Regions from separate parts of the Homo sapiens genome. Here regions 2, 3 and 4 are each linked to region 1. The links are contacts of gene promoters, found by promoter capture Hi-C in human tissues and cell types (Jung and others, 2019). All regions are on one chromosome and are shown on one strand. Each heading gives the region's core, a stretch centred on a gene start or on the middle of the fragment in contact. The rest is flanking DNA. Distances are from core to core; before and after follow the strand shown.

What was found. Contacts are between HindIII fragments. The study calls those that stand out against the background at their distance.
Region 2: a contact is called between a fragment that was not itself captured here and the fragment with the promoter of NCBP2 in region 1, in 1 of the 25 tissues and cell types used here (dorsolateral prefrontal cortex).
Region 3: a fragment that was not itself captured here is called in contact with the fragment with the promoter of NCBP2 in region 1 in 1 of the 25 tissues and cell types used here (hippocampus).
Region 4: a fragment that was not itself captured here is called in contact with the fragment with the promoter of NCBP2 in region 1 in 1 of the 25 tissues and cell types used here (aorta).

What each region holds. Positions count from the first base shown.
Region 1 is chr3:196,936,582-196,943,944 of GRCh38, reverse strand. NCBP2 (nuclear cap binding protein subunit 2) reads left to right here and starts at 1,417. Exons shown (of 4, transcript NM_007362.5): 1 at 1,417-1,519; 2 at 4,513-4,694; 3 at 6,297-6,435; 4 at 6,863-7,363. The coding sequence starts at 1,442. The coding sequence ends at 6,934. NCBP2AS2 (NCBP2 antisense 2 (head to head)) reads right to left here and starts at 1,271. Exons shown (of 1, transcript NM_001355243.2): 1 at 402-1,271. The coding sequence starts at 1,228. The coding sequence ends at 929. NCBP2-AS1 (NCBP2 antisense RNA 1) reads right to left here and starts at 4,068. Exons shown (of 3, transcript NR_046630.1): 1 at 3,818-4,068; 2 at 2,803-2,971; 3 at 1,411-1,552. RefSeq lists enhancers at 814-973, 738-1,411, 1,194-1,493, 1,544-1,683, 1,714-1,953 and 2 more. The HindIII fragment of the contact is 10,051 bases long and covers 1-7,363 here.
Region 2 is chr3:197,539,447-197,546,050 of GRCh38, reverse strand. All of the region lies in intron 3 of BDH1 (3-hydroxybutyrate dehydrogenase 1), which reads left to right. Among named protein-coding and RNA genes, the nearest start is that of BDH1, 13 kb to the left of the region's middle. RefSeq lists enhancers at 3,286-3,879, 3,879-4,173, 3,880-4,475 and a silencer at 3,979-4,273. The HindIII fragment of the contact is 8,756 bases long and covers 944-6,604 here.
Region 3 is chr3:196,294,305-196,301,669 of GRCh38, reverse strand. It overlaps DYNLT2B (dynein light chain Tctex-type 2B), which reads left to right. Exons shown (of 5, transcript NM_152773.5): 4 at 5,601-5,664. Among named protein-coding and RNA genes, the nearest start is that of PCYT1A, 10 kb to the right of the region's middle. The HindIII fragment of the contact is 5,937 bases long and covers 1,635-7,365 here.
Region 4 is chr3:197,696,730-197,703,468 of GRCh38, reverse strand. It overlaps RUBCN (rubicon autophagy regulator), which reads left to right. Exons shown (of 20, transcript NM_014687.4): 6 at 1,605-1,761; 7 at 2,323-2,856; 8 at 6,420-6,515. Among named protein-coding and RNA genes, the nearest start is that of MIR922, 26 kb to the right of the region's middle. The HindIII fragment of the contact is 4,690 bases long and covers 1-3,595 here.

The DNA.
Region 1 (7,363 bases), core at 168-2,667:
GTGGCTGGGATAAGACACAACTGCCACCAGGCCCTGCCCCTAGGCAGTAGTCTTAATGCCTGATGGTGGGGGGTTGGGGAAGGAAGGGGTTGAGTATCAGGGTAAATGCTGCAGAGCTGTGTTAAGGACTTAGGCCCTGGAGTCAAATGCCTCTGCTCACATCCCACTCTGCAAGACTTTGGGCAACTTAAGCAGCAGCCTCTGTTTCCATCGCAGTGGCTCTTGCCTATAATCCCAGCACTTTGGGAGGCTGAGGCGGGAGGATCACTTGCGCCCAAGAGTTCGAGACCACCCCATCTCTACAAAAAAATCCAAAAAGTAATCTGCTTCCTCATGTGAATGTCGTTGTAAGGAGTGAGATAACACATAGAGTGCAATGAGCAAGTCCCAGCACAGAAGACTCATTTCATAAAATACGTGTTTATTATTACCATAGGCCTACAGTCCCCGGTATTCTTAACACATCTTGCCTGAGAAGTATCACACTCATGCCTATCAACCAGCTCACACATTTAATCAAAGGAATTTGGCAGCTGTAGGGTTGTCTTTTCATCCATATCGTCCCTGGAATTAACTGTCCTGCTATACCAGTCAGATTGAGCAGCATCTGTCAAGAGTTTCAGTCCCACTTGCAGAGGAAAGGCTCTCTGGCTTCGGTCCGTGGCTCTCCGTAGGTGCCGTGTCTGGACCCAGCCTACCTTCATCTCTGTTAGGCTTAGGGCTGTCTCCACACTGTGTCTTGTCCAATCACAAGACTTCAACGGAGCGGGCGGTCTGGCCTAGGCTCTTATGCGTGGGATGTCTGCAGGCCAACAATCCCAGTCGGGATTCGAAGCCGCGCGCAGTGCCCGGAATGACCCCTCCACATTGATGCCACTGTAGAGCCCGGAAGGAAAAGCAAGCGGCCTCGGCCCCGCACAGCCCAGGATTAAATGTTTGCGCCAGGGCCCCTCTGGCTACCTGGTGGTGGCCCCGAGCGGCCTCGGAGGCCGCGGCGTAGCTCCTGGGTGAAGGCGTCTCTAAATCGCTCAGCGCGGCGGCACAGGGAGCCCACGGGCCCAGCCGCGAGGTCCTGCAGGCGGCGGGCCGCGTCCTGGCCCCGCAGCTGGGCCTGCAGCAGTGCGAAGGCCGTGAGCTGCGCCGCACGTCGGATAGGCCGCGACTCTGACAGACGTTCCACCAGCTGCGGGCTGTGCAGCAGGGCGGCCAGCAGCCGCCGCAGCACCATCTTCTCCAAGCGCCCGGAACCCGACCTCGCCGCCCTCGTCTTCCGCCCCGCGGCGCCCGACCCGGACGTCTATGCCCCCGCGCAGCTTGATGACGACACGCCGCCCTCGGATTGGGTCCAATGAGATGCTCGCCTCCGCGCGTTTCCGCTTCCGCCATCGCGGACGCAGCCTCGTGCCGGGAGTCGCCGCATTGTGGTCCGCTTCTCTGCACTATGTCGGGTGGCCTCCTGAAGGCGCTGCGCAGCGACTCCTACGTGGAGCTGAGCCAGTACCGGGACCAGCACTTCCGGGTGAGGGAGGCCGGGCCGCGAGACGGGAAGGCCCTGGGCAAGAACGCTGAGAAACGGTTTGCTCTTGTCTCATTGTGTCGCCTCCCATTCAGCTGAAATCCGCAAACGCCAAGTGGGGCCCCGGTGCCTGCTGGCGAGGCAGGGAATGGGTGCTGGAAGGGCGCTTGGATATCACTGAAGCCACTTGCTCTGGAAGACGGGGAACTGGAGGCTCGCTTATCCCATTCGCTCGCAGCCGCTCCCTGTACCCCAGCCAGTGCCGAGAGGTTTGAGCGGTGGTGGTGGTGGCGGCTCCCGTTTCCACGGTTGTGCCTCCGCAGACGACTACGTAGCAAGGGGGAGGGGTGCCCTTCTCTCTCCCAGAGTAGGCAGAGGCGCCTTCCTGATGCAGATGCGGGGCTTTTTGCTTTGTTTTTTAAATCGGCGAAGCAGTGCCCTTCGGCGATTCGGGCCCCTTCTCTGGGAGGATGGTGTTACGGAAGCTGTACGCGGTGCGTGGGAGACACAAGTGGAGTCCTCACTCCGCCCTCGGGGAAGCTTCGGAGTGGGGAGGTGGACCCGCCAAGCTCGGCACTTTGAGGGTGTTCGGATGTAAAGATCGGAGAATTGCTGGATTTCAGAAGAGGGAAATTTTTAGTCCGGACTATATCACAGTATATTTTGTGGAAAAAGGGGAGGCAGCAGATATTCAAAGTAGACTTTTCAGTATCAGCGGAGGTAGGGATGGAATACGGTTGGGGGTTGGCGGGGCGGGACTCATTAACCCAATTATTTAGTAAACGTTTATCGAGTGCTGTCGCCAAATCCTTGTGCTAAACCCTAGAGGGAGAGGGAAGACAGTTTCTGCGCTCTGCGAGCTCATAATCCCCTGTAGTGAGGATTCAGAAAAGGGAAAAATCCCCTTGTGACTGGGAAAGGAAGGGGCGCATATAGCAGAGGGTAAGTGTGGAGAATGTGTGAAATGTGTTACTAGAGTAGGGAAAGGGAAATTTTGTTTGACGCTAAATTAGGGAAGCTCTTAGATTTATTTAGTCAAGGCTGGGAACGGTGGCTCACGCCTGTAATCCCAGCACTTTGGGAGGCTGAGGCGGGTGGATCACGAGGTTAGGAGTTCAAGACTAGCCTGGCCAAGATGGTGAAACCCCGTCTTACTAAAAATACAAAAATTAGGCGGGCGTGGTGGCAGGCGCTTGTAATCCCAGCTATTCGGGAGGCTGAGGCAGGAGAATCGCTTGAACCGGGGAGGTGGAGGTTGCTGTGAGATCGCGCCACTGCACTCCAGCCTGGGCAACAGAGCGATATTCCTTCTCAAAAAAAAAAAATTTATTCAGTTAATGTATTTTATTTTTTGAGACAGAGTCTCGCTTTATTGCCTAGGCTGAAGTGCAGTGGCGCAATCACGGCTCACGCAGCCTCAACCTCCTGAGCCTAAGTGATCCTACCCACCTCAGCCTCCTGAGAAGCTGGGACCACAGGCTCGCGCCACCACATCCAGCTAATTTTTTGTAGAGACAGGGTCTCCCTGTGTTGCTCAGGCCAGTCTCGAACTCTGGGACTCAAGCGATCCACCTGCCTGGGGCTTCCCAAAGTGCTGGGATGCCTAAGTGCCAGGCATGATTTGCACTTCTACCACTTTTAGTTACTACTTTAGACAGTTCCACATCCTGACCATTTTGAACTTAAAGCATCCTGTGAGATGAAAACTGGAACCTTCTGACTTTGTCTATTATTCATCTCCTCAGTCTAAACCTGTAGCTTTTTTTAGATGCTAATGCCATACTGTCATGTGGAATTTCTAGCATTCTGTGAATGGAATCCATATTAATATACTTTAAGCACTTACACCACAGTTATCTTAAACTGTAGGCTATTTATTTGGATCTTACTTACATGTGTGAGAAAAGTAGAAAAAGAAGATGCCTCCTTTCCATGTTCACAAATCAGTAACAGCAGTAAAATGAAAGGAATTTACTTTCTCTAATGTCTCACTCCAAAGTTCCGAAAACCTCTTTTTAACATACAATGACTATTGTCCTGTGGACTTTTTTTTTTTGAGATAGAGTTTCACTCTTGTTGTCCAGGCTCAAGTGCAGTGGTGCAATCTCAGCTCCCTGCAACCTCCACCTCCCAGGTTCAAGCGATTCTCCTGCTTCAGCCTCCCGAGTAGCTGGGATTACAGGCGCCCGCTGCTACCATGCCCAGCTAATTTTTGTATTTTTAGTAGAGACAGGGTTTCATTCACTATGTTAGCCAGGCTGGTCTCAAACTCTTGACCTCAGGCGATCCACTCGCCTCAGCCTCCCAAAGTGCTGGGATTACAGGCATGAGCCACCGCGCCTGACCCCGATGAGCCATTTTGGACCCAGGGCTTTGTCTGTCAGGTGTGTTGGATGAAGCCCAGTTATATGCTTAAGTCTCTGGCTTCATCCTGTCATCCCAATTTGGAAGCCCATTAAGAAAGTGAGCTCTGTTTTGTTTTTAGTGATCACTACATTTTCCCCTAAACTCAGAGAAAGATCTATGAGCACGTAAAGCATCAAGGTTGTGGCTTTCAACAGTCTCTAGGGGGTTATTAAAGAGGAACTCTCTCTCTCTCTGAAAACCCACTTATTTTTCACTACGAAGGATAAAAGGGCCCTTTGTCATATATTGGGTCAAGGTCCAGAGTCTACACTTGGGTTTAAAGGATGCACTGCTGAGGATATGGTGTGTGCAGGGAAAAGGGAAGCCGCTTGCGTGGCAGTCGGGCGTAGAAGTGACTTTGTTGTATGTGGTATAACTTTTGAGCCCTGTCTCTACTAAGAGTCTGGACTTCGCATAAGTGCTTCACAGAAGGTCGACATCCCCCTTTTTGGGCAAGGGATTTCTGGTAGGCTGGGATGAGAGAAGTTGATTTCCAAACCAGAATTAATGAATGTCTCTACCGTACTTAGAAATACTATTTAAGCAAGGCTCTGAAGTTGCTTAACTTTTGTCTCTATTTGAAATTCTAGGGTGACAATGAAGAACAAGAAAAATTACTGAAGAAAAGCTGTACGTTATATGTTGGAAATCTTTCTTTTTACACAACTGAAGAACAAATCTATGAACTCTTCAGCAAAAGTGGTGACATAAAGAAAATCATTATGGGTCTGGATAAAATGAAGAAAACAGCATGTGGATTCTGTTTTGTGGAGTATCCTTCCCATGGATCTAATGTAGCTGCTGAACCAGGGTAGAGCTGAGAGTGGTAGCTCATAAGCGTCCCTGCACTCGTCCCTACGTTTTCCTTCATCTCCCTCCTACTTTCCACCCAGTGTGTCTCTGCCCTTATACTGTAAAGCTGATACTATTTATATTCTCTTCTGAAATCCATGCTTTATGGTTCTTTAACAAAAAGTTTTTCAAGAATGTTTGCCCTTCACGTAAAAAAAAAAAAATTCCAAAGAATGTAGTGAAAATATAAAAATCTCGTACTGTTCTAAACCCCTAATGCCCTTTGCCAGAGGCAGTCAGTTACCAGTTTCTTGGGCGTCTTTCAAGAAGTAACCCTGTGGGTGTGCGGTAGTGTATTTCATGTGCTGTTTTTAAAATCATTTTTTTATTTTTTATTGTTCCATTTCAGCATATGTAGGTCTTTTTTTAAAATAGCTGTACAGCTGGGCATGGTGGCTGGTGTTTGTAGTGCCAGCTGCTCAGGAAGCTGAGGCAGGAGGATCAGTTGAGCCCAAGATTTCAAGGCTGCACTGAGTTGTGACTGTGTTCCAGCGGGGGTGACGGGTTAAGACCCCATCTTTAAAGAAAAAAACTTTTAAGTAAATAGCTGTATAGTATTTCATTATATAGATGTATATAACCTGACTGTATAGGTACAAACCAAAACTATTTACTTTGATCATTTAATTCCCTTACTCAGACTCTTTTAAGTATTGGACCTCTTGGATTTATCCTATGTTCTTTTTACTGTATGTTTTGGTCATTCAATTTAATATTCTGAGAAATTTTGCAGGCCCAATTTAATATATCTTTTGAATTTTTTCCTGTGCCCTGAATTATGTTTGTTTCGGTTGAAATTTTTCCTTAAGTGTCTGGTGATCCCTGGATTTCTGCTCATAATTAAGGAAAAGAATGCTGACTCACTGGACCCAGGCAGGGCTTCTCTCCCAGATTGCAGGCTTGCCTCGGGGATACACAGGTTTCCCAAATGCTAGAATGAAAAGAGATTTTATTTTGGCTTGCTAACATCAAAGATACTAGTTTCTCCAGATGGTTTATTCAGAACACTGTTGTCTTATTTTTATTTGTCTGAGATTAAATGTCTTCCCCTTTAATTAAAGGGAGGTCTCTGATGAAGTAGGTTTGGGAACTGCTACCTTGGTGACAGCTTGAGTCTTTCCTTTAGTGAAGTGCAGCACAATTCCACGTGCACGGTGACCTTCTCTTGATTAGGGTGCCTTGGAATGTACAGAACCTAACTTGAATATACAGCACTGGTTTCTTGGATAAGAAGTGTACAGTGATCTAAACTTGCAAACCAAAATACAGAGATGATGGGACCAAAAATTATCAACAGGAATGTCCAAGAAATATGATCAGTGTAGCCATGGATACGTGTCATATTTGACTCTATGTGCTTCCAAACCAATCGCAAACAGGCCTGGGCAAGCTGAATTACTGTCTTTGAACTCCATCTGGTTGGATTAGCTCTTGTACTTTTTAACAACTCAGCTTCATTTACATGTTGTTCCCCTATTTCCAGAAATGTTTGGAAAAATGCTAGTGTTCCTTAATACTTAAGATATTACTCACGCGCAGATGCGGAAAACGCCATGCGGTACATAAATGGGACGCGTCTGGATGACCGAATCATTCGCACAGACTGGGACGCAGGCTTTAAGGAGGGCAGGCAATACGGCCGTGGGCGATCTGGGGGCCAGGTATGCAAGAAGGGTCTCTGGGCTCAGCCATTGCCTGGGATTCCAGTCACAATGACAGGTGTTTTGGCAATTTGTATTTACTCTTTTGTAAATAACTTTGTGTCTATAACCTTGGCTTGAAGTGGATCTGAAAACCACCCAACGGTTTGGGTGAATTTTTTTTTTAAACCGTGAAATGGTATGTTCTGTACGTTTCTAACAAGCAACCATTCTTGAACTTCTGCTAGGGCTAGGTATCTTCCACCTGCAGGAACATCTAAAATGAAAGCAAAACGCACTGAAGTGAGCTGAAGTGCATATGTCCTGCTTGAAATGTTCACATTGTGGCATCTGAACAGGTTTCACTGTTTGTCTAACATGTTTGTGGGAGGCATATTTGTTACACCATTCTTTTCCATACTGTAACTCTGGATTCTTTCCATTAAAGGTTCGGGATGAGTATCGGCAGGACTACGATGCTGGGAGAGGAGGCTATGGAAAACTGGCACAGAACCAGTGAGTGGTGAGAGCTCTGTCAGTGACAAACACTCCTTTGGCCTGTTGAATTTGCTGAAGAACATCACCTAAAGTCTGCACACGAGCCCATTTTTACCAAGATTTGATCAGTGTCTTTACTGAGCTGGAAGCCTCTGAAAGTTATTAAAGGACAGAATCCAAAAGAATGCCTTTAATTCTTGTCTGAGAATCTTGGCCATGTGTCAGATTATCAGAACAATTTTGTTACCAGGTCAGAAATTGTGTTCTTTGACAACAGATTGGATCTGTAATGTTGATTAGTCTTTAGCCATAACCACTACACTTTTAGAAAGACAGAAAAATGTAAGAATTTGTTTTTACCATAATGAGTCTTAAGTAGGTTCATGATCTACATTGGGGCCTGGGATTATTTTTTTAATTTTAAGTTTGCATGAGATAGCCTAATAAATGG
Region 2 (6,604 bases), core at 4,072-6,571, 600 kb before region 1:
ATTCTCCCACGTCAGCCTCCTGAGTAGCTGGGATTACAGGCACCTGCCACCATGCCCAGCTAATTTTTATATTTTTAGTAGAGACGGGGTTTCACCAGGTTGGCCAGGCTGGTCTTGAACTCCTGACCTCAGGTGATCCACCCGCCTTGGCCTCCCAAAGTGCTAGGTTTACAGGCATGAGCCACTGTGCCTGGCCATAACCACTTCTTAAAACCCTTTTTATTTTGAAATAACTTTGGACTTATACAAAAGTTGCAAAAATCGTTGGAAAGGGTTTCTGGATCCCCTTCAGCTAACTTCCCTAAATGTTAACATCTTACAAAACCATACTGCAATGATCAAAATCAGGAAATTACCATTGATAGAATACTATTAACTAGTCTACAGACCTTATTCCAGTGTTGCCAAGTGGCTGCTGATGGACCTTTTTCTGGTCCAGGATCGAATCCCAAATCCCACATGGCTCGGAGGTGTCATGTGTTTTTAGTTTCTTCCTGCCGGGGACAGGTCTTCAGTCTTTTTCGCTCACGACCTTGACACTCTCGCTGGTTATGTTGTACAATGTCTCTCAGTTTGGGTTTGTGTGGCAAGACGCCTGCGGCAGTGAAGCGGTGCTTTTCTCAGCCCGTCGTGCCAGGAGGTACATTATTTTGATAACTGCTCTTTTAAAACTTTATGCATGAAATCAGTTAGCCGAGATGTCCCAAACCTTCACCGCATCGTTTGTGTGATTTCGAGGAAGCATTATATAAGTACAAATTAGACAAGCAGCTGTTCTTCTTTGAGAGCTTCTGGAATTGCCTTTTCCCAGGGGATTCAGTGGGCTCTGCTGCCACATTTTACTCTTTTGCAGTCTGAGCAAGGAAAAAACAAGAAATACCTTTTTCTTTCTGTTATATTTGAGGGGAGTGAATTTGAGGGGAGTGAAATTGAAGATTATGTTAAATTCAAAGTCCCAGGATCTAGAACACTGATATTTCTATGCCAATAATATGTTTAATGGAACATGCATTTAGACTGAGACTCTGTTGCCCAGGCAATGTGGCAACCTCTTGGCTCAGAGCAACCTCTGCCTCCCGGGTTCAAGCAATTCTCCCGCCTCAGCCTCCCAAGTAGCTGGGACTACAGGCATGTGCCACCACACCCGGCTAATTTTTTGTATTTTTAGTAGAGATGGGGTTTTGCCATGTTGGCCAGGCTGGTCTTGAACTCCTGACTTCAACTGATCCGCCTGCCTCGGCCTCCCAAAGTGCTGGGATTCACCACGCCCGGCCCGGCTTTTAGCAGCATTTGCTTGAATTTATTTCTGAGAGATACAGAGGCATGGCTTGGAGCTGGGGCTCCACCTACCTGAGGACCCCACATGAGAAGAGTTTAGAATGCCCCATTGGCACAGGCGGCAGGAGGCCCCTGCCATCACAGCGGGGACGGCGGAGGCCCCTGCCATCAGAGCGGGGACGGAGCTCGGCTTTGTTGAAGGGCTTTTGAAAGAAGGTGACTTGCTGCAATTGTTTTTTCAGTGAGTGATTCATAAAGATGGCAAGATCTGTCTCCAACATGGCTTTTAGAGATTTCTGGAGTTTTTTTATAGAGGAGAAGATAATCCCACATGAAGTTAAAATACTTTTACAAAGGTTTTGTTCTTAAATGTAAGGAAAATGAGGCATTAGTCAAGCTCCTGGCTCACTTGAGGGGAAAGAAAGATTGTCAAAGGGAATTTGGAATCTTCTGGATGGACTGAGAAGTAACTTGGTTAGGTTGAGGGGCCTGGGTGGTGGTTGGGCAGCCGCAGAGCTGTCAGAGTAGAGTCAATGTCGTAGGGTGAAGGTATGGGCAGCGTGGAGGGGGACCCAGGTACAGAAGGAGGCTGGCATGGTGGGTAATCGCCATGCCTAGGATCCCACAGTCCCTCAGAGGGAAAACTTTGGCCTGATCATTTTGCTTGAGTCTCAGTTGGAAAGGGCCTCATACTCCAGTCTGCACCTGTGAGTGAATCTTGCTGATAGCATCCTTACCAAGTGACTTTATCGCCTCTGTTTGAATATGTCCAGTGATGGAGAGGTTAGTACCTCTCATAGCAGGCCTCCTGTGTTTGGACATCTCCTTATTGAGGAGAAATCTTTTCTCCTGTTAATGCCACTCCTTGTTCTTGGGTCTGCCCCTGCATTCACACTGAGCGAGTTATTCCCTTCTCCCCAGGGGCACTGTGCCACCTCAATACCCACCCACTTGTCTACTCTTACTCCACCCACATGGTTTCTCCTTGTTTATCTCTCATGGTTTCCCCACTATCATCCAGGTCTCCCCGCTGAATGGTCTGCACTTTGCCTGTGCTCCTTCTTAAGGTGTGGTGCCTGAACAAAACACCCACCACTCTTGACATGCCCAGAGCAGGCATCACCCAGTACACATGGCTCCGTCCAGATGAAAACCTTCCCAGGAGTGGCTGGATAAGGCCCCCAACCCCAACACTTGACAACCTGCTGTGCTTACTGGCTCCCCATGGCCCTCCGATTTCAGATTTCTCAGATTTCTGGCTTTGCCAGAAGACTCTGGCATCCCTGGGGCAGGTGCCTTGCTCACATCTGGGACCCTGCCTCCTGGGCTGTGATCACCAGTGCTCAGCTCTGCCAGGCCAGGTACAGCACATAGTGCTCCCAGGGTGGCCTGACCCGGGCAGAGTGGAGAAGGGCTCTTGCCTCCCCTATCCTAGTTTCTTTCCTGTCCAGCCTAGGCTCACATAGCTTCTTTTGGCTGCCACATCACATGCGGGATTCATGGTCAAACAGGCTAAATTTTTTTCACAGATGCTGCCGTGAGGCCATATTTCTCCCGAGCTGCACCTGTGCCACTGATATGTGTTCCTCCTAAGCCCCGTCTTGTTAGATTCAAATGGACTCATGGCTCCTCTCAGCAGAAAGCTGGGTTACTGGTTATTGTTTCTGATTCCTGATGGGGACAATAAAAGGCACAGACACACAGACTGGTAAGATAGAGAAGAAGCCAGAATGAACGCCCTGGCCAGCATAGGGAGCGCTCTCAAATGCGGCCGGGATGACCAGGGCGCTGAGGACAGCAGGCTCTTCCACAGGGCCTTGGGGAGGTGCCAGACTGCACCACTTCCTCCCTCTCATTCTGTTCCTGGGTTAGGGCAAAAATCAGGAAGCTCTCGTCTTCTGAACCTCACAGCCACCCCTTTGGGCTCTCCCTTCAGAAAGTGTGTTGACCGGTGGGGGCGCGGTGGCTCACACGTGTAATCCCAGCACTTTGGGAGGCTGAGGCGGGCGGATCACCTGAGGTCGGGAGTTTGAGACCAACCTGTCCAACATGGAGAAGCCCCGTCTCTAATAAAAATACAAAATTAGCCGGGCCTGTGGCGTGTGCCTGTAATCCTAGCTACTTGGGAGGCTGAGGCGGGAGAATCGCTTGAACCCGGGAGGAAGAGGTTGCGGTGAGCCGAGATCGTGCCATTGCACTCCAGCCTGGGCGACAAGAGCAAAACTCCGTCTCAAAAAAAAAAAAAAAAAAAGCAAGCAAGAAAGAAAGCGTGTTGACCATCTCGAGCTTAACTTGTGCCTCCCGAGAGACTGAGACCGGCATAGCTGTTGGTGTTAGTGGCTTGGTTGGCCAGCAGCTTGCTGTTACTGCAGGACCCTCCTGGGCAGAGGAGACCCTCCAGGGAAATACACACTATTTTATGTGCTGGTTTTGGGCCTAACGCCTCATGGGCATTCTTAGCCCTGGGAGACCAGTGTATGAGCTGGGATTGCCTCACACTAAGAATAGCAGGAACCCCTAGAAGTCTAGGGCCATTGTGGCTTTGGGGAGCCCAGGCTCCTTGTTTTTTTCTGCTGTGTTATTCTGAAGGCAGCTCAGGATCCCAGGATACTGTGATAGTCCTTCACCTCCAGCCTCAGTCCAGGCAGGGACAAGCAACGCACCTGCATCGGGAAAGCAAAACTCAGCAATTGTGGTCGACCTCCGCTTGCAGCCTATTGGCCAGAGGCAGGTCACGTGACCACTAGGTGGGTGGTAATCTGGAAAGCGTTGGGCGCACTGCTGTCCCTGGACAAAATCCAGATTCTTGTTAGTGAGGCAGATGAGAAGAACGGATGCTGGCAGGCAAAGAGCAGTGTCTGTCACAGCTCAGCTGGGCTGTGGCCTCCAGCTGTTCACAGGGATATTGGGGCTTTGGCATTCAAGGGGCTCAAAGGGGAACCCCCTGGGGATAGGTCTTTGTTTTTCTTTTCCTGTAGGGCAGTGGTATTGAACCTTGGTTGTGGGTTAGAATCACCTAGAGAACAGTGAGGGAAAAAGTGTCTGTGCCTCACCTCTGGGTCAGGAGTGAGGCTAGGCAAAGGAATACTTTAAAGAACTTCCCTGTGATTAAAAAGAAAAAAAAAATCATTCTATGGAGAATCTCAAACATACGCAAAAGTAGAAAGCTGTATATTGATCCCTGGTGTACCTGTCACCTGGGTTTCCATAATTATCAGCACATGGCCAATCTTGTTTCAGCTACATCTCCATTTTCCTCCCCCTCCCCATACCAGATTAATTTTCGAAGCAATTCCTGGACATGGTATTTCATTTGCAAATATTTTAATATTTATCTCTAAATGATAAGAACTCGTTTTAGTAATATAACCACACGACCATGATCACATTTCCAAGTGATTCTAATAAACAGGGGCCCAGAGAACAACTGCTGTGGACTAGATGAACCAGTTCTTCCCCCAGGACCTGTTGCACTGGAATCCCCTGAGGTGAATGACACAGGCAGATTTCTGGGGCCACCCCTTCCTACTGAATCAGAATGTCAACGGGAGGGACCTGGGAGTTTGCATTTTAACAAGCTCCCCAAGTGCTTGTTAACTAACTTTTGAGAGCTGAGGCAGTAAGGTCTTCCTGGTCCCAAGGCCCCTTCAAATTGAGAAGCAGCCCTAAGATGGGGATCCCACAGCGACTGTAAGAGCTGCAAATTGAGGGAAGAGGAATTAGAGTAGGATGAGGCAATCCCAGCAGTGGCCAAGAAGGAAAGGCCGAGAAGTCCAGCAGTGCTCAGGAGGCACTGTCATGCTAGCTGGAGCTGCCCGCCCAGGAGTATTCACAGCCCCACCTTACCCACCTTGTCAGGGTATTGCTGTGGGGGGGGCAGGTGAGTCGAGATAGAACCTTCTGCTCTCTGGAAGAGTAGAAATGCGCCATTGACTGTTGGGTATAAGTGGTAGAGCCTGGTATAATACACCCAGACTCAGTTAATTTTAGGTCTGAATATATTTGACAATGGAGAGACAGTTTAGAGAAAGACGGGCAGCAAGTCAATCTGAAATAAGCTCTCTTGCCTAGACCTTTTTGTTACTTGTTTTGTTTTGTTTTTGTTTTAAGACAGGTCTCACTCTCGCCCAGGCTGGAGTACAGTGGCACAATCTTGGCTCACTGCAACTTCTGCTTCCCGGGCTCAAATGATTCTCCTGCCTCAGCCTCCTGAGTAGCTGGGATTATAGGCGTGTGCCACCACGCCCTGCTAATTTTTGTATTTTTAGTAGAGATGGGGTTTCACCATGTTGGCCAGGCTGGTCTCGAACTCCTGGCCTCAAGTGTCTGCCCGCCTCAGCCTCCCAAAGTGCTGGGATTACAGGTGTGAGCCACCGCTCCCGGCCACAACCTTTTTGTTACTTTTAAAAATGTCAGGTAGGCTGGGCATGGTGGTTCACACCTGTAATCCCAGCACTTTGGGAGGCAGAGGCAGGTGGATCACTTGAGGCCAGGAGTTCGAGACCAGCCTGGCCAACATGGTGAAACCTCATCTCTACCAAAAACACAAAATTTAGCAGGGCGTGGTGGAACATGCCTATAATAATCCCAGCTACTTGGGAGCCAGAGGCACGAGAATTGCTTGAACCCGGGAGGCGGAGGTTGCAGTGAGCCAAGGTTGTGCCACAGCACTCCAGTCTGGGTGAAAGAGAGAGACGCTGTCTAAAAAAAAAAGTGCTAAGGGTGTGGCCCTTAAGGAGACAGGAACAAATCATCTAGTTCCACTAGGGATGTAACTGCCCAATGGCTTCACCTTGCTCACTGCCTAGACAGAACCGGTTTATCAAGACAGAGGACTTGCAGTAGACAAAGAGTAATTCACGCAGAGCCGGCTGTGCAAGAGACCAGAGTTTTATTATTACTCAAATCAGTCTCTCCAAACATTCAGGAATCAAGAGTTTTTAAGGATAATTTGGTGGGTGGGGGAAGGCCAGTGACAGAGTGTTGATTGGTTGGGCCGGAGAGGAAATCATGGGAAATTGAAGCTGTCTTCTTGCGCTGAGTCAGTTCCTGGGTCGGGGCCACAAGAGCAGATGAGCCAGTTTGTCCACCTGGGTGGTGCCAGCTGATCCATCCAGTGCAGGGTCTGCAAAGTATCCCAAGCGCTGATCTTAGGAGCAGTGTAGGGAGGGTCAGAATCTTGTAGCCTCTAGCTGCATGGCTATAAATTATGGTTTATAATTTGTAATCTGGTGCCTAATTTGTTAGTCCTACAAAGACAGTCTGATCCCCAGGCAAGAAGGAGGTTTGTTTTGGGAAAGGGCTGCCATCTTTGTTTTAAACTATA
Region 3 (7,365 bases), core at 3,354-5,853, 650 kb after region 1:
GCCATCTCTGCTCACTGCAGCCTCCACCTTCCAGGTTCAAGCAATTCTCCTGCCTCAGCCTCCCGAGTAATTGGGATTACTGGTGCCCACCACCACACCCGCCTAGTTTTTGTATTTTTAGTAGTGACAGGATTTCACCATGTTGACCAGGCTTATCTGGAACTCCTGATCTCAAGTGATCTGCCCCGCTCAGCCTCCCAGAGTGTTGGGATTACAGGCATGAGCCACTGCGCCCAGCCACAGTAGTTATTTTTATGTTGTTATATGCTTACTCTGGTATCTGGGTCATGTGTGAGTTTGTTTCCATTGTATTTTTCTTGATAATCATGTATATGGCTTTGTCTCTTGGCATGCCTAGTTTGAATCTTAGATATTGCTTAAAAGAATTATAGACCTCCAGATGATATTATTTTCTTCCAGAAAGGACTTAACTCTCTCTTCTGCTGTGCAGGAAGAGTATTGGCCGCTTAGCTTCAGGTACTGAGCTGAATTGAGGTTGGGTTACAGTTTTATCTTTTTAAAAAATTTTCTTTTCTTGTGCCAACTCATCTGAGAGTTGTGGTTTTAAAAAGGCCCTATCTTAAATTCATCCCTTTTTTTTTTCTTTTTTGAGACAGAGTCTCAACTCTGTTGCCCAGGCTGGAGTGCAGTGGTGCGATCTCAGCTCACTGCAACCTCTGGCTCCTGGGCTCAAGTGATCCTCCTGCTTCAGCCTCCCAAGTAGCTGGGACCGTAGGCATGAGCCACCACGCCCAACTAATTTTTGTATGTTTTTGTTGAGATGGGGTTTCACCATGTTGCCCAGGCTGGTCTTGAAGTCCTTGGCTCAAGTGATTCTCCTGCCTTGGCCTCCCCAAGTGCCCAAGTGCTAGGATTATAGGTGTGAGCCACCACACCCAGCCTCACCCTTGTTTCTATTTTTTTTTTTTTTTTTTTTTTGGAGACAGAGTTTCATTCTTGTTGCCCAGGCTGGAGTGCAATGGCATGATCTTGGCTCACCACAACCTCAGCCTCCCGGGTTCAAGTGATTCTCCTGCCTCAGCCTCCTGAGTAACCGGGATTAGAGACGCACGCCACCACGCCCGGCTAATTTCTGTATTTCAGTAGAGATGGGGTTTCACCATGTTGGCCAGGCTGGTCTCAAACTCCTGACCTCAGGTGATCCACCCACTTTGGCCTCCCAAACTGCTGGGATTATGGGCGTGAGCCACTGTGCCTGGCCCCCTTGTTTCTTAATTGTAGCCCTCCAAGTCTTTCAACCAAGAACCTCGAATGTTCATTAGGCCTCTGCAGGCCTCTACCTCCAACAGGTGCTGACTTTCAGATCTTGTCTCCTCAGCATAAAACTTTGCTCTTCATGTCAGAGGCTTTTTCCTTAGTGTACTAGTTTCCTGTTGCTGCCGTAACAAATTATCACAAACTCAGTGCTGAAAATGGCACAAATATATTACTTTACAGTTCTGGAGATCAGAAATCCAAAATGGGTTTCATTGAACTAAAATGAAGATGTCAGCAGGGCTGCATTCCTTCTGGAGGCTCTAAGACTGAATCCATTTCCTCGTCTGTTCCAGTTAGAGGCCCCTGAACTCCTTAGCCCATAAGCCGTTTCCTCCAATTTCAAAGCCAGCAGCACAGCATCTTCAACTCTCTGACTCTGACCCACCTACTCCCTCTTTCTTTTGTAAGGACCCTTGTGATTTAGTCATACTAGTTACTTTATTTTATTTTATTCTATTTTTGAGAAAGAGTCTCACTCTGTTGCCCAGGCTGGAGTGCAGTGGTGCCATCTCGGCTCACTGCAAGCTCCGCCTCCTGGGTTCACGCCATTCTCCTGCCTCAGCCTCCCGAGTAGCTGGGACTACAGGCGCCCGCCACCACACCCGGCTAATTTTTTGTATTTTTAGTAGAGACGGGGTTTCACCACGTTAGCCAGGATGGTCTCGATCTCCTGACCTCGTGATCCGCCTGCCTCAGCCTCCCAAAGTGCTGGGATTACAGGCGCGAGCCACTGTGCCCGGCCTGAATTCAGCATGTCTTGAAAAGAAAACCTACCATGTGATACGCTCAGTTCTACTTTCTCCTTTTTTATGGGATCTTCCCTCCAGAATCTGATTTTACCTCCTTAGCTTTGTTAAGACTGCCGACTCTGCTGGGCACAGTGGCTCACTCCTGTAATCCTACCACTTTCGAAGGCCAAGGCGGGCAGATTGCCTGAGCTCAGGAGTTGGAGACCAACCTGGGCAATATGGTGAAACCCCGTCTCTACCAAAAATACAAAAAATTAGGGCCAAGCACAGTGGCTCATGCCTGTAATCCCAGCACTTTGGGAGGCCGAGGCCGGTGGATCACTTGAGGTCAAGAATTCGAGACCAGCCTGCCCAACATGGTGAAACCCCGTCTCTACTAAAAATACAAAAATTAGCCGGGCGTGGTGGTGGGTGCCTGTAGTCCCAGCTACTTGGGAGGCTGAGGTAGGATAATTGCTTCAACCCGGGAGGTTGTGGTTGCAGTGAGCCAAGATTGTGCCACTGCACTCCAGCCTGGGCAACAGAGTGAAACTCCATCTCAAAAAAAAAAAAGAAAAAAAAAAATTAGCCAGGCATGGTGGTGCATGCCTGTTATCCCAGCTACTCGGGAGGCTGAGACATGAGAAGTGCTTGGCCTGGGGAGGCAGAGGTTGCAGTGAGCTGAGATCGTGCCACTGCACTCCAGCCTGGGTGACAGAGCAAGACTCTGTCTCAAAGTAAAATTAATAAATAAAAAAATTTTAAAAAGTAAAGACTGCCAACTCTCCTACTAGTTAAATTTTCCCTCAGTAATTTGTTCTTTACCTGAGCAAGGCCCAGATTCTCAGCATCTAGCCCTGTGCCCTGAATTGGCAAATCCTCCAGGAAAAAAATCTGCTGCGGAATATCAGCTTACCTCCTAGAGTTCACCTCTTTCTGGAATTTTGGCTCCTCTAGGCCTGTTTGCTTTGGCAGCTCCCTGATTCATTTTATCCAGCTTTTCTTACTGTTCTTGGTGGGAGCATTATTAGCCTGCTACAAACTGTACCATTACACTTTTTCCAAGTCACACCTGTAATCCCAGCACTTTGGGAGGCTGAGGTGGGCCGATTGCTTGAGCTCAGGAGTTTGAGACCAGCCTGGCCCACATGGTGAAACCCTGTCTCTACAAAAAATATAAAAATTAGCCAGGCGTGGTAATGCACGTGTGTAGTCCCAGCTACTCGGAAGGCTGAGGCAGGAGAATCATTGAACCCGGGAGGTGGAGGTTGTAGTGAGCTGAGATTGTGCCACTGCACTCTAGCCTGGTTGACAGAGTGAGACTCCCTCTCAAAAAATAAAAATAAAATATAAATAAATAAAACAATTGGGGTCTCACTATTTTATATTTTTGTCTCAAAAAACAAACAACTCTCTCTTGTGGTGTGTGCTTGATTCTGCTTCTTGTCATGTCTTCTCACAAGTCTTTTAAGAGTAAGCGATTCCTGGCCAAGAAACAAAAGCCAAATCGTCCCATTCTCCAGTGGATCTGGTTGAAAACTGGTAATAAAATCAGGCACAACTGGAAAGGAGACATTGCAGAACAGCCAAGCTGGGTCTATAAGGAACTGCACGTGAGCTGGCACACATATTCACGCTGTATCAAGGTCACGGCCATCTTACTATAGCAAGCTGAAAACGTCACCACTGTCTGAACAGTTGGACGTGTTTTATTGGGAATATATTTTTTCTCTTTGCTTATATGCCCTGCGATAGTAGGCTGGGTTCAGTAATAAATATGTGAGACCTTTTGTTTCAGGAAAAAAAAGAACCAATATAATATAAGGTATATGTGTATGTTTCTCTGTGGGTATGGGTTGTGAACTGCCTGGGTGCAAAGCCAAGCTTTGTTACCTAGTTGTATGACCTTGTACACTTAATTTCTCTAATCCTCATTTGTCACATTCACTAAATGGGTAAAATTATAGTACCTCATAGGATTCAGTGAGTTAATACACGTAAAACACTTAGACTAGTGAATGGCACAAAGTAAGTGCTCAATAAGTGTTTGCATGATAAATCATACACATACGTTTAATAGAAATGTAAAACATTTGTAATTTTTTTTTCACTTATTATTATTATTTATTATTAGTTTTTGAGACAGAGTCTCACTCTGTCGCCAAGGCTGGAGTGCAGTGGCACAATCTTGGCTCACTGCAGCCTCCACCTCCTGGGTTCAAGTGATTCTCCTGCCTCAGCCTCCCGAGTAGCTGGGATTACAGGCGTGTGCCACGATGCCCAGCCAATTTTTGTATTTTTAGTAGAGATGGGGTTTCACCATGTTGGGCAGGCTGGTCTCGAACTCCTGACCTCAGGTGATTCGCCCACCTCAGCCTCCCAAAGTGCTGGGATTACAGGTGTGAGCCACCATGCCCAGCCTATTTTTTTCACTCAACATTATATTGTGAATAGCTTTTCATGTTCTTGGAATTTTTTTTTTAAGAGCCAGGGTCCTGCTGTGTCTCCCAGGCTGGAGTGCAGTGGTGCTATCTCAGGTCACTGCAAGCTCCGCCTCCCAGGTTCACACCAGCCTCCTGAGTAGCTGGGACTACTGGTGCCTGCCGCCACGCCTGGCTAATTTTTTGTATTTTTAGTAGAGATGGGGTTTCACCGTGTTAGCCAGGATGGTCTCGATCCCCCGACCTCGTGATCTGCCCGCCTTGGCCTCCCAAAGTGCAGAATTGTTTTTTTTTTAAGAGCCAGGGTCCTGCTGTGTCTCCCAGGCTGAAGTGCAGTGGCTGTTCACAGGTGTGATCTTCACATACTACATCCCTGAACTCCTGGGCTCAAATGATACTCCCTGTCTCAGCCTCCTGAGTTGCTGGGACTACAGGGACACGTCACTGTGTCTTGCAAAACTTTTCTTTAAGGTCTACATAGAATTTCATTGCCAGAAAACATCATTATTTCTTTTTTCTTTTTTTAAAAAATTCTCCCAGATCCTGAGAAATACCATAATTTCATTTACCAATCCAGTCCTATTGGGCATTTAAGTTGTTTCCATTTTTAATTGGCTTTTATTTTGACTAATATTTTTTTCTTATCCAAGAATTGCAGAGAGGAGAATAGCCAATTTCAAGGTAGTTTAGCATTCTGTAGAGATATTTTTGGAGTTATAATTCGTTAGAAGACTGAATTCTAGTTCAGAGTTTGCTCCTTTTTCTGGGACTCTATAAAATGATCAGGTTGGACTAAATCTGTTGGGCTCTTTCTGTGCCTTCCTCGTCCTGTTATTGTGCAGGAGCTGAGCTCATTAAAAGTCACACACAAATCTCTAGTATTGATCCCTGTAGCCATCAGGTAGGGTCTGAGGCTGTCAGAGTACCTGGCTGGTCACCTCTAGTTGCAAGCAGCTTCATCTGACTCTAGTTTCTCCGGTTTACCCAGTATACTCTCTGGTACAAATACAATACTCTGTGGGTACCTACCTGTGAAAGGTTTGGAAGTACAGATCTATGAGAATGTATTAAGGAACACTGTTTCTCGTGGCAGATATGTGTCGTTTAGGTCCTTGTTAGATTGTTGATAATTCTTCATTCTTGGATTTTTTAGCATGGCTTCTCGCTGTTTCTGGGATGCTGACACTGACAACTATACTCATGATGTTTTCATGAATGTAAGTGTATTTGGAAACCTCTTTTCCCTTTCTAAGAACGTGGGCACCGCAAATCAAACTATTTACTGTTGATTGGGATGGAAAGACACTGCTGTCTTAGTCATTCATCTTTGACTTGTGAATGAAATGATTTTACTGTTAGTTTTTGTGTTACTAAAGCAGAAACCTAGAGTGCTGCTTATAGGCAAGGAAACTTACATGTTTACATATGACATAATTTTTCATGGGTTTGAATTTCTGAATAGCATATTATTTAGTTAGCATATTATTTAAACATTATTTTTAGCCACTTCCTCCATAAATCAGTGTTCTAAAACTCAATCCTGATAATCCTTATTAAAGTAATAATTTATAACTAAAATTTTAAAATCACTTATTTGTTCATTTGAACCAATCACACTTTGCTAAGTTGCAAACAAATGTGGATGGCAGGGATTCCATGAGCAAAGGTCATTTTTTTTTAGTAGTAAAATTTATTACTTTATCTTAAAGCCATTTATTAAAATTAAGCAAAAATAAAGAGGAATCTTTAAAAAGATGTTTCAGGCCAGGCGCGGTGGCTCATGCCTATAATCCCAGCACTTTGGGAGGCCAAGGAGGGCGGATCACCTGAGGTCAGGAGTTCAAGACCAGCCTGGCCAACATGGTGAAAGCCTGTCTCTACTAAAAATATAAAAATTAGCCGAGCATGGTGGCGGGCACCTGTAATCCCAGCTACTCAGGAGGCTGAGGCAGGAGAATCGCTTGAACCCCGGAGGCAGAGGTTGCAGTGAGCTGAGATTGTGCCACTGTATTCCAGCCTGGGTGACACACACACACACATAAAAGAGGTTTCATTGAAGTTATTATTTTATATTTACTCCAGAAAGGATTGCATCCTCTATTCGTCTACTCCCAGGTTGTGAATACATAGAGTCAGAGTTAGAGTAGAACAGAAACTAGATTGAGTAAATTAAGAGAGTGAGGCCAGGTGGGGTGGCTCACGCTTGTAATCTCAGCACTTTGGGAGGCCGAGGCATGTGGATCACTTGAGGTCAAGAGTTTGAGAGCAGCCTGGCCAACATTGTGAAACCTCTTCTCTGCTAAAAACACACACACAAAAAATTAGCCGGGTGTGGTGGTGCACGCCTGTAATCCCAGCTACTTGGGAGGCTGAGGCAGGAGAATTGCTTGAACCTGGTGGCGGAGGTTCCAGTGAGCTGAGATCGCACCACTGCATTCCAGCCTGGGCAGCAGAGCAAGACTCTGTCTCAAAAATTAAAAAAAGAAAAAAGAAAAAAGTAAAAAGAAATAAGAGGGGGATTCCATCTCCAGTTCTGTCACTTTCTAATTGAATGACTTCAGGTAAGTCATTGGATTTTTCTCACATTGTATCAGTGACATTAGGAAGCTGAAGTACATTTTCCCAAAGACTGGCTGTGACTGCCTAAGGATCATCTGGGAAGTTGTTTAAAATATAGACGCTGGGTCCCTATTCAAATAGATTCTGATCAAATAGGCCAGGGGTTAGATCAGTGAATCAGAATATTTAAAAAGTTCCCCATGATTCTGCTGACTGCCAGATATGGACACTGCTTATGTAGATGATTTTAAGGTAGCTTTTAGCTCTAAAATTCTATGGTCTCACCAAGGTTTTATTTTTATTTTTATTATTTTTTGAGACAGAATTTTGCTCTTGTTGCCCAGGATGGAGTGCAATGG
Region 4 (6,739 bases), core at 1-2,500, 760 kb before region 1:
TTCACTTAGCCATTTTTGTGAGCTGAAAGGCTTGCATTTTTTTTTTTTTTTTTTTTTTTTTTTTTTTTTTTGAGACAGAGTCTCGCTCTGTTTCCCAGGCTGGAGTGCAGTGGTGCAATCTCAGCTCACTGCAACCTCTATCTCCTGGGTTCAGGCGATTCTTGTGCCTCAGCCTCCCGAGTAGCTGGGATTACAGGCGCCCGCCACCACACCCAGCTATTTTTTTGTATTTTTAGCAGAGACAGAGTTTCACCATGTTGGCCAGGACGGTCTCGATCTCCTGACCTCGTGATCCTCCCGCCTCGGCCTCCCAAAGTGCTGGGATTAGAGGCCTGAGCCACCGCGCCCGGCCAGCTTTCATTTAAAATGCTTGGAGGAGGGGAGGTACTGTTAAGTACCTATTGAAGTAGAAAGTCTAGGCTTAGGTCGTGTGCTTAGTAGACCTAAGCTGGGGAGTGGGGAGGTAGATTTTGTTAAACCTGTGGTATCTTTTGACAAAGGATACCAAGCCTTGACAAAGATCTGGGGAAAAGAGGGATGGTTTTGAATCGGATAGAGTTTAGTGTCAGACCTGGCATAGCTTAATGTTACACGGGGTCAGTTTTTTCATGTTTTTTTCTTTGATGTAAAGAAAATTTTATAGTACAAAGAAAATTTGTTGCCTAAAATTAACTTATCCCATCACTAATACTCCAGTCAGTGCCTTAGCTAGAATGGAATCAGAGTCCCCACTTCTTAGAGAAGCAGATCCCCTATCTCTCCAGATTCTTTTAATTAATTATTATCATTATTATTATTTTGAGACAGAGTCTTTACTTTGTTGTCCAGGCTGGGCTGGAATGCAGTGGCATGATCTTGGCTCACTGCAGCCTCCGCCTCCCGGGTTCAAGTGATTCTCCTGTCTCAGCCTCCCGAGTAGCTGGGATTACAGGTGCACGCCACCACGCCCAGCTAATTTTTGTATTTTTAGTAGAGACGGGGTTTCACCATGTTGGCCAGGCTGGTCTCGATCTCCTGACCTCAAGTGATTTGCCCGCCTTGGCCTCCCAAAGTGCTGGGATTACAGGTGTGAGGCACTGTGCCCGGCCTGATTCGTTTAATTTTGATTGTTGGTTACTATCCATTTAATACTTTGTATGTGCCAGGCACGGTGCTATGTATGATAAATGTATCATGTCATTGACTCTTCATAACCCTGTGAAGTGGGCATTGATCTCATTTTATAAAGGAGGCTGCTGAGGCACAGAGTAGATACGTGGTCCAAAGTTTGGATCAAATAGCTGATAAGTGTCAGGGCCTGGATTTGAACCCTAGTCTGTCTGACTTCTGATTCCACATACATCAGCACTTTGTTGTGCTGCCTCTGTAATAAAGTACTCCTGGTTTAACACCTGGAAGGATTCCAGTGCAGATGCTGTGGTTTCACAGTTGTAAATTACATACTGTAGTAGAAGGTAGCCTTGCTGTATCTACAGGCTCTGGCTAAAGTCCAGGCCTACTGCAAAGGTAGCTTCTATGGCATTTCTGCAGTACTGCGTTGCCCCCACTCTGAGGCCCTTTGTCCTTAACTCTGACACATTTTTTGGTTTTGTTTTGCTTTTTAGTTTGCCAGAAAGCACGAGAGCCCGCTCCTGGTGACAAAGAGCCAGAGCCTGACAGCCCTGCCCAGTTCCACATACACCCCTCCAAACAGCTATGCTCAGCATTCCTACTTTGGGTCCTTCTCTAGCCTCCACCAATCCGTGCCCAACAATGGCTCAGGTATGGGGACAGGAAAAAGTGGTCATTACATTTATCCCCAGCCCTGGAAAGTAAGAAGACTTTGTGGTTGCTCATAGGCTTGGAAAATTGAGACTTGGGTTGGTAGTTTTTCTTAATAAGGGACATCTTTACAAGTTATATAGTGACTAGCTTGAAATAATTCAGTAGAATCATGAAGTAACAGAAGAGAGAGATGTTTGTAGATTCCCCTGGGTTTCTAATCCACATTGCCAAGAAGGCATTTCAATACTAGCTAACACCGAATGATTGCCAATCATGTACTAGGCTCTGTTGTGTTCAGTTTGTATGTGTTATCCCATTTGAGCCTTCAAACAGTCCTCTTACTGCTCATTTTTCAGATGAGGAATGCATACTAATAAGCAATAAAGCACTGTCTCAGGAGCCCATACTCTTGACTTAGCTGCTTCTAAATAATTTTGTACTTTATTTGGCTTGCCGTTTCTGAGGTGACATCGTATGTCCTGGTCACCCAGTCCTTCATACATACTGCAGGATTCCACCTCACCCTTGCTCCCCTTACCATTTCCTTTTATATTCTAGAGAGAAGATCTACTTCCTTTCCACTCTCTGGCCCTCCCCGGAAACCTCAAGAAAGCAGAGGGCACGTCTCACCAGCAGAGGATCAAACCATCCAAGCCCCCCCAGTTTCAGTCTCTGCACTAGCCAGGGATTCCCCTTTGACCCCAAATGAAATGAGCTCCAGTACTCTGACCAGCCCCATAGAGGCATCCTGGGTCAGCAGCCAGAATGATTCCCCAGGTGATGCCAGTGAGGGGCCTGAGTACCTGGCCATTGGCAACTTGGACCCCCGAGGCCGGACTGCCAGCTGTCAGAGTCACAGCAGCAATGCCGAGAGCAGCAGTTCCAATTTGTTCTCCTCCAGCAGCTCCCAGAAGCCAGATTCTGCTGCCTCTTCCTTAGGGGACCAGGAAGGAGGTGGGGAGAGCCAGCTGTCCAGTGTCCTCCGCAGGTCCAGCTTCTCAGAGGGGCAGACACTCACTGTCACCAGTGGGGCAAAGAAAAGCCACATTCGCTCCCATTCGGATACCAGCATTGCCTCCAGGGGAGCTCCAGGTAATGAGGAACACCGGCTGCTAGTTAGCAAGATGACCCTGAATTGAGAGTAAGAGAGGGCTTGTTATGGGGACTTTTCAGGTGGCAGAAAGAGATGTTCTGTTTCTGGTGATACAACATCTTATTTTGTAATGAAAGAAGTTTATAACGAAATACTGAGACTCAAAATCTCTAAGTCTATTTATGTTTGTTTCTTTATACATTGCTAATATTAAATGTTTTCCTGGATTCTTTACTAGTTTGGTAACATCAGAGGATAGCGTGACTCATAGTGCGAGTTTTCAAAGTATCTCTTGGATTGGGGAAAGTATTATTGAGCTTTAAAAATAATCCCATTAAGTTCTGTCATTTCCTGTGACGTCTTAGAAGTTTGCCCAGGGTGTAATAATACCAATGTGAGAGAGGCAGAGAGATACTGGGGTTTCTAATTAAAACGAAGGCTATAGTGAGTGCAGGGTGATGCGATCCAGCAACTGAGTCGGTGGGGCTGACGGCCGCATCACTGATTCAGGGTGAGAGGCCGTCAGATAAGGAGGCCCTGGCAGCTGGGACCTCCCTCACCAAACACCAGCTGATAGCAGGGGCAGCCTACTCGTGGGGAAGGTGGGGCTCCTTGCTTTTGCCATCTCCCTGCCATCATCCTTCCCGGCTTGTGGTATCCGGCAGGCTTTGGTTGGGTTTTGTTTGTAGTAGGATCTCCATAAGAGGAAGTATAGCATGGAGCTTTGTGCTCAAAGCCATTCTGGGTCAGGAAAGCCCCAGAAATAAAATATAAAAATAAAATGTGAAAAATTCAAGGACCTAAAAAAAAGAGGGGGCGGTTTCTTTAGCAACTGGAGATAGCGTTGCTTTCTCTTTGTAATTTCTGGAAAGGTGAGAGCTAAGGCCCTCATCTGAAACCTTCAGAATTACAAACTTTTGTCTTTGTTTTCCCTCAAGAATGTGATTTAACTTGTTGGAAATCTTGAGGAGAAGAATCTCCAAATCAAAGCCTGTCTTCCCATGAGCTTTCTTAGATGTGAAGATGACTGGGCTGGACCCTCACTTCACATCTCCTGCTGCAGGCCTGATGTCTGCCATACTCCAAGCCACTGGCCTTTGAGCATGTAAAACTTTCCCGCCCCATTCTTGAATCCATATGGATTCCAGTGGAATCCTGCCTTGGAAAAAGGGAGCCCGCGAAAATGTGTGCGGAAGGATCTGAGGAAATATGGGTCACGCACAGCTTCTTGGACAAGCCATCCGTCCTTCACAACTGGGGTTTCCTCTTGGGAGTTCCATCCCCACTTCTGCTGGGTAAAATTTAGGACACTTTTTTTCTCTCTCTGTATTCTCATTGCTCTATCTGGACTCTCCTCTGCACCTGTCTGTCTACCGGCAGGAGGCCCCAGGAATATCACCATTATAGTTGAAGATCCCATTGCAGGTTTGGGAATCGGTCCTCCACCTCCTCTTTGTTCTGTTTTGTGACCACCTTTCTTAGTTCAGAACCTCCTTCAGTCTGGTGTCAAATCAAGTCTGGCTAGCCTGGTCTTGTTGTGATGCTTGGAACTGTCTATAAAATGATACCAGTATTTCATATGATGTGTTTTCTATACACAATTCCAAATGCCTCGTTCAGTCTCTCAACAGCTTCTGGGAGGCAGAGTCAAGACTTATCAATTCAGTTTTGCCCAAAGGTGAAACTGAGGCCTGCTATTTGTCTGAGGCATCATGATGAATCAGTAGCAGACTTTTTTTTCTTTTTTTAAATTTTTTTTACTTTTTTTTTTTTTTTTTTTTTGTAGAGACAGGGTTTCACCGCATTGCCCAGGTTGGTCTTGAACTCCTGGCTTCAAGTGATCCTCCTGTCTTGGCCTCCCGAGTGCTGGGATTACAGGCGTGATCCACCACACCTGGCCCAGAATTTTTCTTATAACTGAATACTTCCTATGGATTACTTTATTTTCCTTGAATTAACACCAGAATGTATTTTATCCCCTTTCTGTGGTCTTAGATATACTTGCATGTTTGGTTTTTTTGTTTTTTGTTTTTTTGTTTTTTTTCCCTCTCCTGCAGTTCCGTTTCCTTTTTCTTTCACCTGTTTTCATTTCCCTATAAATCCCTGCACCCCATTCCAGCTATTGCATAGGATTCTTCTAGTTATTTCAGTCTGTTTCCTTGGTGTTCATGGTGGTGTTCAAACTGAGATTTGTGTTCCATCCTGGGTACCATAATTCATGGACATGAACACTGGAATGTGTCTGCAAGGCAGAGTATTGAGAGAGGGCTGAAAGCCGTGGCCTCCTGGAAGTGGGTGAGGCCATTGGGTATGTTAGCTTGGAAAACAGATGGTTAAAGAGGAATAAAGTCTGTAGGACCATCATTTAGAATAGCGTTCTTCTTAAGGAGATAAGAAATTGGAAGAAGGCAGATAACGAGTGTAAGGGAATTCTAAGAATTAGTTAAATGGTGGCATTAGGAGGTAGTGAACTCAGTAAGTAAAGGCTGAATGGCCACATGTTGTAAAGAGGTTAAGGTCGTGTTGGAGTTTGTGTTGTGTGCTGTTTGGGAATCTTGAAGGTCCCTTCCAAGTCATATCATGGTTTTTTACCAAGGCATCGTGGCGACTACTAGTTTGTCCTCAGTTCAGTAGGAAGGAACAGAGCCCACAGCCAGGGCTACCAGAAGTCTTTGAGGCCCAAGAAGAACACAAAATTGTCTCTTGCACAGAGTAGCATTTTTTGTGAGAGGAGCAAGTTGGTAACATCTGTCAGGGAAATGGGTTAGATGCAGCTCAGTCATTCACTCTCCCACAGCATCCTGCTCATTTTCAAGCACCCACCTGCTTTTCCACCTGTTCTTCCTTCTGTGGTCCTGGAAATGTTGTGTTTCCTTGTGAAGAATATCAGTTTCTCATTCCTGCAAACCCTGCCTGCTACTGTTCTCCCTCCCAGCTCTCGCTCTTCCTGTCCCAGGCATTGTCTGTCTCGCCAGCCTTCCCTCCCTCCCTTCTTCAGTAAGGCCGGGCCGAGCCCCGTAACGGAGCCCTTTGCTTACAGGGCCCTCTCCCTGGGCTTCTCCAGCACTGCCTTGATGCTTCTTTTTAGGATGCTGCTGAATTTTATTTCCTTAGTGAATGTAAATCTTCTGATGTTACTTTAAAACCTAATGTCAAGATGTCAGAAAAGTTTCAATGCACTTGTCTTTGTTTTACCATCTAAAGACTTTTCTAAATTGGTTTGTCAAGAGGATAGGAATCAGCTGATATTCCTGTAATGTTTGGTTAAAAGATGTAAGGAAAGAGAAGCAAATTCCATGAATCCATTTTGATTTGATTCTTTCCTTTATGTTGCCCCATTCTGGATCACGTTTCTTCTTTTCCACTTAGAATGTACTGACCTGCCATCTCCTTCCCTCCCTGTGTTTCTGTACCCTTGGGCTGTTCCGTTGGTGTGCCGCCTCTCTCCTGCTTGGGAGGGCTTTGGGAAGGGGTGCAGTTAAGTGTTGAAACTCCAGAGTTGGGAATGTACCTGTTGCTCATTTCGTATGTGTTTTTACTCGCTGGTGGTCATCGTCATTAGAATCCTGCAATGATAAGGCGAAGTTGAGAGGCCCTTTGCCCTACTCTGGTCAAAGCAGTGAAGTCAGCACACCCAGCTCTCTGTACATGGAATATGGTGAGTACTAGGAAGGCCAGGGCTAAAATTGTATATTTTCTCTGCTCACCCCTTGTGCCTGCTAAGTTCTGAGTTTTGGGGTTCATCTCAGCTCTCTGGAGGGTACACACTGTTACAGTCTCAGTCACTCTTTTGTCATTTTTAACCCCCGTGCTAGAAATCACACTGCTCTGCCATTTCTCTTGCTTCTCTCTGACTTGGGGGTCCCACCCTCTCTTACGTGC